3 separate regions of the Homo sapiens genome follow, and all the other regions are linked to region 2. The links are contacts of gene promoters, found by promoter capture Hi-C in blood cells and fetal thymus (Javierre and others, 2016). All regions are on one chromosome and are shown on one strand. The core of a region is centred on a gene start or on the middle of the fragment in contact, and the rest is flanking DNA. Distances in the headings are between cores, read along the strand shown. Region 1 holds the start of MAP9 (microtubule associated protein 9). Region 2 holds the start of RPS3A (ribosomal protein S3A). Region 3 holds the start of TMEM184C (transmembrane protein 184C).

Evidence for each region. Contacts are between HindIII fragments. The CHiCAGO score rates a contact against its expected background, and 5 or more counts as called.
Region 1: a contact is called between a fragment that was not itself captured here and the fragment with the promoter of RPS3A in region 2, in 4 of 17 cell types (total B cells, non-activated CD4 T cells, total CD8 T cells and 1 more). The highest score is 6.4, in total B cells.
Region 3: a fragment that was not itself captured here is called in contact with the fragment with the promoter of RPS3A in region 2 in 1 of 17 cell types (total B cells); the score reaches 7.3 in total B cells.

What each region holds. Positions count from the first base shown.
Region 1 is chr4:155,373,879-155,378,631 of GRCh38, reverse strand. It overlaps MAP9 (microtubule associated protein 9), which reads left to right and starts at 1,667. Exons shown (of 14, transcript NM_001039580.2): 1 at 1,667-1,861; 2 at 2,718-2,856; 3 at 3,611-3,695. The coding sequence starts at 2,782. RefSeq lists an enhancer at 1,785-2,214. The HindIII fragment of the contact is 1,550 bases long and covers 2,554-4,103 here.
Region 2 is chr4:151,097,633-151,102,474 of GRCh38, reverse strand. It overlaps RPS3A (ribosomal protein S3A), which reads right to left and starts at 2,847. Exons shown (of 6, transcript NM_001006.5): 1 at 2,761-2,847; 2 at 1,887-1,990; 3 at 1,313-1,500. The coding sequence starts at 2,822. SNORD73B (small nucleolar RNA, C/D box U73B) reads right to left here and starts at 418; the gene lies at 344-418. RefSeq lists enhancers at 1,924-2,507, 2,528-3,087, 2,508-3,092, 2,391-3,590, 3,868-3,937. The HindIII fragment of the contact is 1,842 bases long and covers 2,359-4,200 here.
Region 3 is chr4:147,615,341-147,619,693 of GRCh38, reverse strand. It overlaps TMEM184C (transmembrane protein 184C), which reads right to left and starts at 2,297. Exons shown (of 10, transcript NM_018241.3): 1 at 1,615-2,297. The coding sequence starts at 1,737. It overlaps TMEM184C-DT (TMEM184C divergent transcript), which reads left to right and starts at 2,449. Exons shown (of 2, transcript NR_186679.1): 1 at 2,449-2,606. RefSeq lists enhancers at 1,878-1,927, 1,958-2,077. The HindIII fragment of the contact is 898 bases long and covers 2,604-3,501 here.

The DNA of each region.
Region 1 (4,753 bases), core at 2,079-4,578, 4.3 Mb before region 2:
TCCAGTACGGAGCCCCACAATTAGGGGTATGGACAAGTGAAAGTCTTGGAGTATTGAGCAAAGAATTCTATTGAATGGAACATGGCCACACCATACCTTGGTGTGATCTCAGGTATTGGATAGGTTGGCTGTAGATATTCAGTGAATGTGGGAGAAGGGCCTATATATCTATTGATGACAGAAACTGAGAAATAGAACATAGAATATTGGCTTGTGAGGAGGAAGGGTTTGGAGTAATAGGAGAGCAGTCACTGAGTATGTGAGGACCTAGGAGAACTTAGAAATCTTCCTTCTACAGCAGTCCCTATTTGAAAAGCCCTCAGGGAGATAGTTTATTCAGAAAATAGTTTTGCTTAGCTAAGATAAGAATGCGATTATAGAGGAAAAAGTGAGAGAATGTTTTACAGTGGAAAGGAGGTTCCAGGAGCATGAGGTGAACCTGGAAGGGTTCAACAGTAGTGCCATGAGTTAATAGAAAATAGGGAGCATTTTCTATTCTGGGTATGTGTGTGTAGAGGTGGTGTACATTTTCAGCTTCATAAATGGATACAGATGAGTGGACATATATATATAATATATTATATAATATATATTATATATATAATATATTATATAATATATATAATATAATATATATATACTATTAGTTCTGTCCATCTAGAGAACCCTGATTAATACAGCATTGTATTTTACTAAATTTCTTATTTCTTGTTATGCACATTTAGTTTTTCAATACATTGATTTATTAAATTTCTATCTCAATGTGATTTGTTTATACAAAATTGAATTAGTGAAATATTAACATATTTTAGAGATGTGGAAAAAATACCAGGTATGAGTTTAATTACTAGTCAATGAATTCATTCAGATAATTCAACTAGGATTAAGCTTTTTAAAAATTAAAAATAGTAAAAATTCATATTATTTTAAAGACTTTCAATAAACGTTTTTGGTTTTTATTTGCTTTAAGAATTTCCTATGCGAATTAAATGATGTTGATTTTGTTTACTTTAGTAGCACATGCTCTTTTAGCCTAGTGGATCATTTTGTTTGGTTTGATTGGAATAAGATTACTCACTAAGTATACAAAGAGGGGGAGTTTTACATTCAAGTAAGATGTCAAATGGGCTTTCAGTTGTGTCCACAAGAGCTGAGGTCTCTCCAGGCCCTTTGCGGCTTAGTTGCATGAAGAGCATATCTAATATCGAATACAATTCCAGGCACTCTTCCAAGTGTTCCACTTGTATTATTTCATTCAATTTTACAGCAACCTTTCAGGTGTCTATTATTAGTACACTTTTGTTTTCCCCCAGAAGAAGAAACTGAGTCATAAAGACCTTAACTTGGGACAATCACGTGTGTAGGAAAGGGGTACCAGGATTCAAACCTGCAGTCGGAAACAGGGTTCTGCAAACTCACTACCGTACTATTCTGTCCCATCCACTGACACCGTACTTCGATTCAGAGAACTTCACGTCCTAACTGTGGCAAAACGACGAATGTGCTTTATTTGCAACACGTGCAGATAAGGACCCTTACTCTATTGGCAAGAGTAAGGCTATCTGGGTGGGAGTTGGGCGGGTCCTGTCTCCTAGGCAACAGCACATGCACACAAGCGACCAATAATGAGCCCCTCTCCAAAGACCCAGGAAGGTGATGTCACTTCCTTCGTCTGGGTGGTTGCCCCAGCGACACGTTGGGCCGAAGAGCGGTGTTGGGTACCCGAGAGACCCGGCGGTGGGGAAGTCACTTCCTCCCGAAGACGCTGTTTCCTAGCAACCGCCCTCCGCCTCTGTTATTAGCCCCTCCTCCTCGCTCGGTCCAGGACCGGCTCTGCGGGCGCCGCCAGGCCCAGACCAAGGTGAGCAGCTCCTACCCGATGCTTGGCTCTTGATTCTCAGGGTCGCGGAGAACTGGCCGCGGGCGTCCGGGGCCGGGAACAGAAAGCGGGACCTGGGGGCCATGGGGGATCCGGACAGAGACCGCGCTTGGACGTGCACGGGCCTGGCGTTCGCTGGTGCTCAGCATACGGCGCGGTGAGGAGCGGCGAGCACCCGGACGTCACCTGGCCTGGTAGGGAACGGAACCCGGGGCGCACAACGCTATGGGCGGCCCTGCCAGGCCTCTGCTCCGAGTACGGGAAACCGCGATTTTAATGCGGCTCATCGCGAAAGCTTCGTCGTTTTGTCTGGCTCTCTTTAACACTTTTGTGAGAGGAAAAATTGGCTTGCAATACATCTCGCTGGCTGTTTGCGGGTTAGCATTACGATCTTTTTCTTTGAATAGCGCTGTATGCAAATATATAGATACATTTTTTTTTTGGTGGTGGTGCTCATAATTTTTACGCCGACGATCCTTTTGATGGCCTTTTAAATAAGACGTGACTTATTTTGAAGGCAATGTTATACTTTAGAAGAGAGGTGAAAAATAAGGTGTTCTATTTTAATTGGCAGCATTTTGTCGTATTAACTTGTAATCATTTATTTGCAGACTTTTTAAGTAGTTGCAAAACTATTTTAGGATAACTTCCATTTGAATTTTTTTAAACAAGCTTGTTATGAGAATTTGCTATTTCTTTACAAGAACCTTTTTAAGTGAAGATGTAGCCCAATGTTCATATCAGATGCTTTTCTTTGACCTTTGTGGGGAGAGTAGAATCAAATGTAATAAAATAAATTCTGAAGCATGCGAAGTCTGATTTGTTTTGTATATTTCAGCTACTATCAGAAGTTGAATTCTAATAATTAGCTATTTTATAAAGGTAACGAGAAAAAATACACTATGTCTGATGAAGTTTTTAGCACCACTTTGGCATATACAAAGAGTCCAAAAGTTACCAAAAGAACTACTTTCCAGGTAAAGTATTTTTATTTGGAATCATTTCACAGTGTAAACACTGTATTAGATGGGTTGAAATTGGTGATTCTAGAACAGTCCTATATAAAGCAGGGGTAAATCTTATATTACTTTTGAGGTTTTGCACATGATCATGTTTGGGCTCCATCCAGTATTACAAACTCCCCTATATGGTTTTAAGACTACCAAAGTAGCCTCAATACTAGTTTCCTACTAAGTTAAAAGTTGAATCGCAACCTTAAATTGCCATTTTTATATAAAAACTTTTTTTTCTGTTGTAACATAATGTTTAAGTTTTTTTTTCTGTTGAGTCACTGCAATTTTGAACTCAGCCTCTAAGTTTGCAATATTGATTGCATCCATTTCTGAAATATGCCGAGACAAAAGCTCTTAAAAATACCAATTTCTTTCAAAATACCAGTTTTTAATAAATTATAATCTAAATTGAGCCCCTTCTTATTTGTTACCCTCCAGCTCTAATTATAACCTGCAATTAATTTGTTCCATAATGTGTGTCTCCTCTAGTTAAACTGCGAGCTCCATGAGGAAGGGCTCTTGTCTGTGATGCTCTGCATTGAGTATGAGGCGTAAAGTGGGTACATGGCATAAAGTGAGCTTGCAGGAAATATTTGTTAGATGAATGAAACCTAAGTTTGAAAGCAGTCGTTAATCAAGCATTGTTTGTTTAAAGAATTACTTGTGAATATGATACCTCCATGTTTGGATGGAAATTGATTTCAGTATCTCATTTCAGGATGAGCTAATAAGAGCAATTACAGCTCGCTCAGCCAGACAAAGGAGTTCTGAATACTCAGATGACTTTGACAGTGATGAGATTGGTATGTGACAGTATGGAAACGTGAACCACTTTTCTTCTTTTTGCTTCCTTAGTTTTGTATTTAGCCAGCCCCCCAACCACCCATCCCCTCAATCACGTATGTTAAAATAATACCTAAGCATTCACTAATTTTAGATTTTCAACTTTTTAATTAGTAGAAAGCCACTCTTAATTTTCAGGAAGTTGTATGATTTTCTTTTTTTATTGTTGTTTTGTTTTCTGAATGTGTATACGAAAATATAAATTAATTGATGGCAGGTTTGCAGTAAAAGGATGGCTGCCAGTGGTAAACCACATTGAAGAAGACAGGTTCATCTTTAAGATCAACCCTAGGAGGTGCTACAGCTAGTTAGTAACTAGTCCCACAGAACTAAACTTCGGTGCACATTAGAAGTGCTTTTATAAAGCTTGCTATAAATCAGATTTTTTTTGGCTGTGATAAGGGGTAAATTTAAAAACCACAGACTCTTCGTGTTTCATATATCAGTACTATTATAATTTGGTTTCTCTTAGCTATGTAAACATATTAACATTTTAGTTTCAGGTATAAGCATACAGAATTCTAAACTTGGTGTTTTTGTTTGTTTGTTTTTGTTTTTGAGATGGAGTCTCGCTCAGTTGCTCAAGCTGGAGTGCAGTGGTGCAATCTCGGCTCACTGCAACCTCCACCTCCCAGGTTCAAGTGATTCTCCTCCTTCAGCCTCCTGAGTAGCTGGGACTACAGGTGCCCGCCACCATGCCCGGCTAATTTTTGTATTTTTAGTAGAGATGGGGTTTCACCACATCGGCCAGGCTGGTCTCGAACTCCTGACCTTGTGATCCGCCCGCCTCAGCCTCCCAAAGTGCTGGGATTATAGGTGTGAGCCACCGCACCCGGCCTGGTGTTTTATTCTTTAAAATTTGGTGAATAATTGTAATTGATTTCTGTAAAACCAGTAATAACCACAGTTAAATCACTGCTGTATAGTTAACTTAGCATTTCTTATGATTCTTAGTAAATCTAATATTCTGGTGTGGATGGAATTGTAGTTCCAAAATTTTTATGGAAAAAATATAATT
Region 2 (4,842 bases), core at 1,598-4,097:
TACAGTGATTATGTCATTTTTCAAAAAACTGTGTTGTAAATAGGTGACTGCTATAACTCTAAATGCACACTTTGAAAGACGTCTTTTATGTTCCAAACTAAAGCCATGCTGATGATTAAATACCCAATTTCAGAGCTAAAATATAATTAAAAACCCCTAGTTAGTGGTCATATTATTGCCTAAATTGAAAAAACAAAAAACATCTTGGGTAGTGATGAAAACTGATTTACCTTGTTTGCATTTTGTAAATTTTATACCTTAGTATAAAAAAAAACTAATCAAATACAATTTACAGCTAAGGGACCTTAAAATATTTCTAGAAATGTAAACCATAAAGCCTTAGAGGAATGTCAGGATAAATATAATGGTATAATCAGTATGTATCATTTGGGACTGAAACATTTTGTCATCATTCATTCCCACATACAAAATATTCGAACTGTGCCAGGTGCAGTGGCTCACACCTGTAATCCCAGCACTTTGAGAGGCTGAGGCGGGCAGATCACTTGAAGTCAGGAGTTCGAGACCAGCCTGGCCAATATGGTGAAACCCTGTCTCTACTAAAAATACAAAAATTAGCTGGGCGTGGTGGCGGGTGCCTGTAATCCCAGCTACTTGGGAGGCTGAGGCATGAGAATCCCTTGAACCCAGGAGGAGGAGGTTGCAGTGAGCAGAGATGGCGCCACTGCACTCCAGCCCGGACGATAAGAGACTCAATCTCCCAAAAACAAAAAACTCCCACAAAATATTCCAACTGGATAGTTAGCCAGACACATCTGAAATATTTTCATTTCATCCTCACAATTCAATAAAATGACACTCTTATCTGCACTTTACAAATAAAGAAACCGAGGCTTAGAAAACAAGTTACTTTCCAACGAGAACACAATAGGCAAATGGAGCCCAGATTTTAACCTCACTCCAGAGGCTCTGCCACAATTATGCTCTACTGCCACAGTTAATCAACATTCACTCAATTCTGAGGTCAAAAAACATCCTTAAGACAGGCAAAACCGCCCACCTGCACCTAAACGTTCCTCAAAAAACCACTAATCTATGCAGCAAGAAAATCTGACTTTGATGATACACCACTATTAAATCTTAGATTTAAATAGTAAGTAAAATATGGTGTGGCAACCCCAGAGTTAGCACTCAACAACGGCAAGAAAACAAAAATTTAAAATGAACTTTGTGGACATTTCACTGGTCTCAATAAATAAATAAAATGAACTTGCTCCTTCCAGTCATCAAACCATGCTATCCTTGGTCAAACACCCATAGCACAACCACTCTAAGGAACTTTGGGTCTCACCTGCCATTTTTTGACCATGGAACACATTTTGTCACGGGTAAGATCCATGCCATGGAAGTTAGTCAGGCAGTTTTTACCCTGAACATCTTCAGTAATCAGCTTGAATTTTCTAAATGCAACTTCATCATTCTGCAAATCAGCAAGACTCACTTCAAACACACGACCCTTGAGACCATCAGATGCAATTTCTACAAAAGAAAAAAACAAGTATCTTAACATTTAGGAACCATATAAGCAAAGTCAAGCCTGTAAACTGAGGGTAGAAATTAAGTTAATGGTAAATTATAAAGACCTTAACCTTTGTTATCAAATCTATCCAGACACCAGTGACTTATCAACAGTACTTATTTGAAGCTCAGAACTACCCATGGCACATTTTCTTAATTCAAAAAGCACCATCTTGCTTCTCTCCAAGTGCTGTACTAAAAATGATCACCACAGGTGCCAAGGCTGCAACCAAGAGCTGACATTTCCTTAAAGTCTCCCACCACAGGACCAACAACAGACCAAGATGCCTGCTACAATATACAAGCGCCAACTTAAGGAAAATACAAACCAAGAATAAGCTACTTACTGGTTCCTTGGGTCCTGGTGACGAGCGTCTTTCCAATATTTCTTATATTGAACATAGCAGGTGCTTTCACATCATACCAATCTTTCTTAGAAAATGGATCAACCCTGGATTTTAAGAAGATGCTTAAGTTCCATTGCAGATCAATTCTTACTGTATTTTTCACTGTTAATGGTATTTCCCATTAATATTTTAAAAAGCTAACCGGCAATTTGATACCAAAGTATATCTCACAGTGAGGTGAGGGGAACAAACATAAATCTAGCTCTTCCCACTGTACGTTTCACTGCATGCATCAGACTTTGAAAGGTTATGTCCACTTCCCACCCTCATCGGTCCATCCACTACACAGGCACTTAGAATAACATGCATCGGTCCTTCCACTACACAGGCACGAGTAACATGCAATCTCATTAACTTTGCTGGCACGTAATGGCATGTACTGGTAACTAAGAGACTGCATGGCCCCAAAGCTTAGCAGGAGCTCGCAGATTCCAGCGGGACCAAGCAAAGGCGAGATTGACGGGTCCTGAATGGATAGAAGGGTGCTTTCCTCAACTCCTGCTGTCGCAGTGCCATCAAACACTCGCAGAATTGAGGCAGCTCGTGAGCCCACAAAACTAACATTCCAGCCGAGTCGCGCCGGCAAGCCGGCTCAAACGCGACGCGCGCAAGGACCAGAAGGCCTGGGAAAGGCAGCCGACCTGCCGCTACTCAACACCGACCCTCCAGGCCGCGTTCCTGGGTGCACCAACCCGCCACGGCCCGCACAATCCGACTGGAATCCTCGCCATCCGGCCTACGCCGCGATCTAGGACCAGCCCGCCGATTCCAGCAGACCCCCAAAAAGCAAGACGCCACGACAGTCGCGACTTACACTTTCTTCTTGGCTCCCTTTTTGCCGCCTTTCGTAAGGCGCTTGTTCTTGCCAACCGCCATGGTGCTGGTCAGAGAGCCAAAAGGGCGGAAGTGGGAGTCGCGCGAGAACTTAGGCGTACGGGGGCGGGGCGCGCCGTCTACGTGACCTTTGCCCTGTTATTCTTCCGGCCTCAAGAATTCCGGGACAGTAGAGAGCGCCACTCTTTCTACTGTGGTTGCGACATCGCCATCGTGTGTGGGGAGGCCGCGCGGCATGCCGCGGGCTCACTGGAGGCTGCGCTGTGTAGACCAAGGCGTCGGTGGCCTGACGTGCAGGCGTCTGGTTACCTGTGGTTTCTGTGGCTGTGACGTCGGGAAGTAAGTTTCTGTAAAACGAGACGCCCACTCAACATCGTTCAAAGCTGAACTCACCGTCTAACCCCCAAACCTGCTTTTTGAGAGCATTGGCTTTGGAGTCAGTCAGCGGATCTGATTCAAATGCCGGTTTCAACAGGGCTTTGCTTGAGACCGACCTCTCCACGCTTGTTTCCTCATGCGTAATATGGGGGTGATAAAACGGTCGGCTTCATGAGGTTTCATAGGGCTAAATGAGCATCACTCCAGAGATGCTAGCGACGTTCTGCTTGTTGATGTGGATGCTGGTTCATCTCAGGTGTTGTTGCTTTGTGAACATTCACTAAGCTCTACGCTTATTTGTGTCCTTTTCTATATGTCTGTTATATATTGATTAAAAGGTTTTTTTAAAATAGAGTGAGACCGAACTCGTTGGCTCACACCTGTAATCCCAGCACTTTAAGAGGCTGAGGCAGGGGAATCAACTGAAGCCAGGAATTGGAGACTAGCCTGGGCCACACAGCCAGACCCCGTCTTTACAAGAAAATGATAAAATTAGCAGGGCGTTGGCCGGGCGCGGTGGCTCACGCCTGTAATCCCAGCACTTTGGGAGGCTGAGGCGGGCGGATCGCCTGAGCTCAGGAGTTCGAGACCAGCCTGGCCAACATAGTGAAACCCCGTCTCTACTAAACATACAAAAAATTAGCCGGGTGGGTGCCTGTAATCCCAGCTACTCGGGAGGCTGAGGCACGAGAATCTGAGCTCAGGAGGCGGAAGTTGCAGTGAGCCGAGATCGCGCCATTGCCTGGCCAACAAGAGTGAAACTGCGTCAAAAAAAAAAAAGTGAGATCTCCAAATGTTTCCATTTTTGCAACTAATCCAAACCCGCCTCCCCCATTTTTTTTAACTGTAGGGGTTAACAGAGCACATCCTGGCAAGGTGTGGCTGGCTAGCTCAAGTGTGCAGCCCTCGGAAAGCATCTGGCCCATACAGGCTTGGTACTCAGCCAGTGGTGTGTTGAGTTCCCTTCTCTAACTTCCCCTCTGGCAGAAAACCCTGTGACCAAGCCAAAACCAACCCTTACTTACAAGGCCCCCTGCAAGCTTTTAAACTTACAATCCCTTCCAGTCCTGCTAGCCTCCATCCCCTACCTCCCACTACACCCACCCCCCAAGACAACCTTCCTAAACCTCTAGTAGGGTCCTGAAATCTTTCAGTAATTCCATAAATCTCAGTTGCCTGGAGGATAAATTCAAAGTCTTAGTTTCATAATAGTATGAATGTACTTAACACTACTGAACTCTACACTTAAAAAAGGTTAAGGTAGCCCTGCCAGGTGTCTCAGGCCGCTAGTTCCAGGTATTCGGAAGGCAGAGGCAGGAGGATCACTTGAGGCTAGGAGTAGGACTCCAGCCTGGGCAACATAGTGAGACCCCATCTCTTTTTTAAAAAGATGATTAAGATGGTTAATTTGGCCAGGTGGTGGCTCATGCCTGTAATCTCAGCACTTTAAGAGGCCAAGGCAGGAGGTTTTCTTGAGCTCAGGAGTTTGATACCAGCCTGGGCAACATTACAAGACCTAATCTCAACTAAAAATAAAAAAAAATTAGCCCGGCTTGATAGCTCATGCCTGTAGTCCCAACTACTCGGAAGGCTGAGGTAGGAGGATCCCCAGCACTTTGGGAGGCCAAGGCAGATGGATCACTTGAGGCCAGGAGTTCGAGACCAGCCTGGACAACATGGTGAA
Region 3 (4,353 bases), core at 1,803-4,302, 3.5 Mb after region 2:
ATTATGCATATTATTAACCTTTAAAGTGGTTCCTATACTATACTCCACGGAAATATTTCAAAGTAAGAAAATCCCATTTGTATTAAGATGCTTATACCTAAGTTTTTGTAGACAAATTGTGGAAAGAACCTAAATATCTAACAAATGGGAAATATTGAATGTAGCAGAATATTACATGGCCATTAAAAATAACTATATGGGCCGGGTGCGGTGGCTCATGCTTGTAATCCCAGCACTTTGGGAAGCCGAGGTGGGTGGATCACAAGGTCAGGAGTTGAGACCAGCCTGGCCAACACCGTGAAACCCCGTCTGTACTAAAAATACAAAAATTAGTTGGGTGTGGTGGTGGGCACCTGTAATCCCAGCTACTTGGGAGGCTGAGGCAGGAGAATCGCTTGAACCTGGGAGGCAGAGGTTGCAGTGAGCCAAGATCGCGCCACTGCACTCCAGCCAGGGCGACAGAGCTAGACTCTTTCTCAAAAATAAATAAATAAAAATAAACAACAACAACAACAAGTAAGTATATGGGGCTGGGTGCGGTGGCTCACACCTGTAATCCCAGCACTCTGGGAGGCCGAGGACAGATCACCTGAGGTCAGGAGTTTGAGACCAGCCCGACCAACATGGAGAAACCCCGTCGCTACTAAAAATACAAAATTAGCCGGGCGTGATGGCGCATGCCTGTAATCTCAGCTACTCGGGAGGCTGAGGCAGGAGAATCGCTTGAACCCAGGAGGCGGAGGTTGCGGTGAGCCGAGATCTCGCCATTGCACTCCAGCCTGGGCAACAGGAGCAAAACTCCGTCTCATAAACAAACAAACAAAAAACTATATGGACTATGCTAGTATGGGAAAGTCATCAGAAAATAATTTAGTGTAAATAGAGAACACAAATGTATATTAAATACAGTTTATGTAAAAATCATTTCCACAATAAAGAAGGGCCTAAAATAGTCATGGTCTTATTATAGTTCTTGTAATAGGTGTTCCTCTGTAAAAGTACTTGGTGGGTTTTATTAACTCCGAATTTAAAGTTCATTATATAATATTTATATCTGAGTTATTTACCTTGGGGTTTTCCAGCTTGTAGTACATTACTGATGTCACAATAAGCATATGACATCAAAAAATATATATAAGGGACTTTTTGCAAAACCTTTGTTGGGTAAGAGCTAATTTCCACAGTAAAAACAGACACCAAAGTTAAAACAACTAGAACGCTTTGATTCAAGAAGCTAGTTAAAAGCTAATAAAATTCAATACATGGTTTTCAAGGTAGTTTATTTGACCTAGTTTCGTCCAATGTCTGAACAGATCAGATTTCAGCAATAAAATTACCTTACTTTCAGGGAACTGATGAATACTTGCAAAACAGTGCCCTTCTAAGCAGCTATATTAATATATTCTATTTTCTCGACCCGGTCCCACCTCCACCTGTAGCATGACTTGAAGAACCGTGAACAAGAAATTAGACAGGTTTATATCCTAAGAGTAGGCTCGTTTACATTAGATGGTTTTCAGGACTGTCAGGGCAGAAATGGGGTAAGGGTGTCTCTTTCCCAACCATAGATGGGTAGAAGAAAGTGTACAGGCTGATGGTGCAGAACCCTCTTACCTCCAGTTTCTGTAATTCCCACACGCATAGGGGAACCGCAACCACTATTGACACCAGGTAGATGACCGCTACTAAAGGTCGAATCCACTGTCTCCAGTTCCTCCAGGTACAAGTGCAAGGCATGTTTTCGCACAAATCAGATCCGGTTAGCAAGGGAAAAGATCTCGAAAAGATTGTAATGGGGAGCCCTGTTCTCTGGCTGTTTTGTCAACTCGCATACTACGGAGAAAAAGCTGTCGGGCGACTTTACGAACAGCTCGAGCCGCCTCCTGGACCGGCGCTGTGTCTTCTGCTGCTGCTGCTTCTGCAAATGTAGCCTCTCAGGGTGCTATTGGCGAGCAGTGCAGGCAACATCCTTTCTTCTCCACCCCGCATCTACCCGGTTGTACTGCGGTGGAATCCCAGGCAGAGCCGCTGCCCTCACCTGGGGATCGCCCTGAGCTCTGCCTGTACCATGGCTTCCAGGAGAGCAGCACAGACCAGGAACCGGCCTCTAGGGACCCTGCACACTCCGGTTCTGTCTCGCAGCTGCCTGCCCACTCGCTCTTTTCTTTGGGGATCGAGCTTCCTACCTCCCGCACTGGCAGGCGTCTCTTCAGTCGATTCCGCTAGTAGGTAAGGCCCCAGGATCTCCTCATTCTTTCGCACGGGACCTCCCCTACAGCGGAACCCAAGGCCAAACCAAGACTTTCAGCTCTTTTCCGCTTCCGCCCCTGCTGTCTGAGGCAGGTGATTCGTCGTCAGCGCCAAACTGGGCCCGCCCCATCCGACTCACTTTGCGCCCTCTGATTGGTCAGCTGTGGGGGCGGGGCTGCAGGATTGCGTACTGGGGTTAGAAAGAAGAGCAGGTGCGTGGAAGTGGGTGGAATTGCCGCAGATGGTCCAGCGGGCTATTGCAAGGATTCTGGAAGCTGCGGGAATTATTTGAGGACACTTGAAGCACACCTACTACATTCTTCTGCTGGCGTTATTCCAGTTTAAAGAAAGCTTGGGTAAGGGGCGGTTACTTCAGAGTTGGACTGGAAGAGAGAAGGCCCATCTCTACACAAAACATCCCCTATTCAATCTAGAGTGGATACAGAAGCCCGCTGGAGTAAGAAGACAAGGAAGAATGGGAAACCTCCACCTAGTTTTCTGTCAGTTGCTAGAATCTAGGGGCTAGGCCGCTTGGTTATTTCTGGATCCTACAGAAGGATCATTCTAAAGGTAGCTTCATTTTAGAATTAACCGCAAATAGGGAATGTCCCTTCTACATTTGGAACTTGTGTTAAAAATTTGCACTCATTTAAGTTTTAAAAAGTTGACATTCCATCTGACAAAGGAGTTTCATATGCTTAAAGCCTTTAGCTAAACCAATAGAGTAAACAAATATCTACTACTCAATTACATATACAAATGCGTTTTATATTGTAATTGTAATTTTCAGGGGGACAGGCACTGTACTAAGTTCATTACCTACATTATGTAAGTTGTTCTGCACAAAAATTTTGAGAGGTAGGCATTTTTCCACTTTACAGATAAAAAAGTCAAGTGGCTGATAAATTTGCCCAGGCTCACTGAGCTAGTTAAGTGGTAGTGTGGAGATAGCAACCTTGGTCTTTGTGACTCCAAAGGGCATTATATTTAAGCATTTGACCTGCTAGTACCTGCCACCTGGGGAATTTCCGCCTAATGACCATACGGATAAGGAGGCTTGTAACATTGAGTACACCTAGCCCAGGAGTCTCACAGAGACACCTAAGGAATATTATGAGCCCCTTTTTTGGTATCGTCTGTTTGGACTTGACTTCACTGCCTACTTCTCAGTTGTTAACATTTGTATTTTACAACCTGACCCAAACTACTTTCTACCGGAAAAATAGGCCTTATGTTTGTTCTTCCTAAGCTTACTTTAAAAATGGAAATTAAGGCTGGGTGCAGGGGCTCATGCCTGTAATCCCAGCAGTTTGGGAGGCGGAGGTGGGCGGATCATGAGGTCAGGAAATCGAGACTATCCTGGCTAACACAGTGAAACTCCGTCTCTACCAAAAATACAAAAAATTAGCCAGTTGTGGTGGCGGGAGCCTGTAGTCCCAGGTACTCAGGAGGCTGAGGCAGGAGAATGGCGTGAACCCGGGAGGCGGAGCTTGCAGTGAGCCGAGATCAAGCCACTGCACTCCAGCCTGGGCGACAGAGCGAGACTCTGTCTCAAAAAATAAATAAATAAATAAATAAATAAAATTAATTAAAAAAAATTCCTGATCATTAAATTAATGCTTGCTCTGTTGTTAAAGTTCATAAAAAAGAAGAATAATGAAGAGAAAGTTAATTTTACTCTACGGCCAAGTATAACTACTCTTTACTTGTTTGGTACACAGTAGAGGCTATCTTGGATATGCCGTATGCGTAGATTGTCTCTGTGCTTTCAGCTACAGCGTTTTTGCTGCCTATAATCTTTCCCATTCTTTCTCATGGGCAAACTTTTTTTGCCTAATTTGTGAGACCTTCCTTTATTTTTGTTTCCCCATGTATTCTTACAGCATTTATATGGTATTATACTCATTTACTTATTTGTCTTGTTTAGATTTTGAATTCCTAAAGCAAAAATCTAAATCCATTAGAAAAAAGCAAAAGAGAGAAGAGATGAGACAGATGCACAAATGATTTCACATACCAGTTTGCGAACTGGAATTCTTCTATGGTGAAATTTCTTCAGCTCAGCAGAGAAATTAAAAACAAAATTACAGATTGAGTATGCCA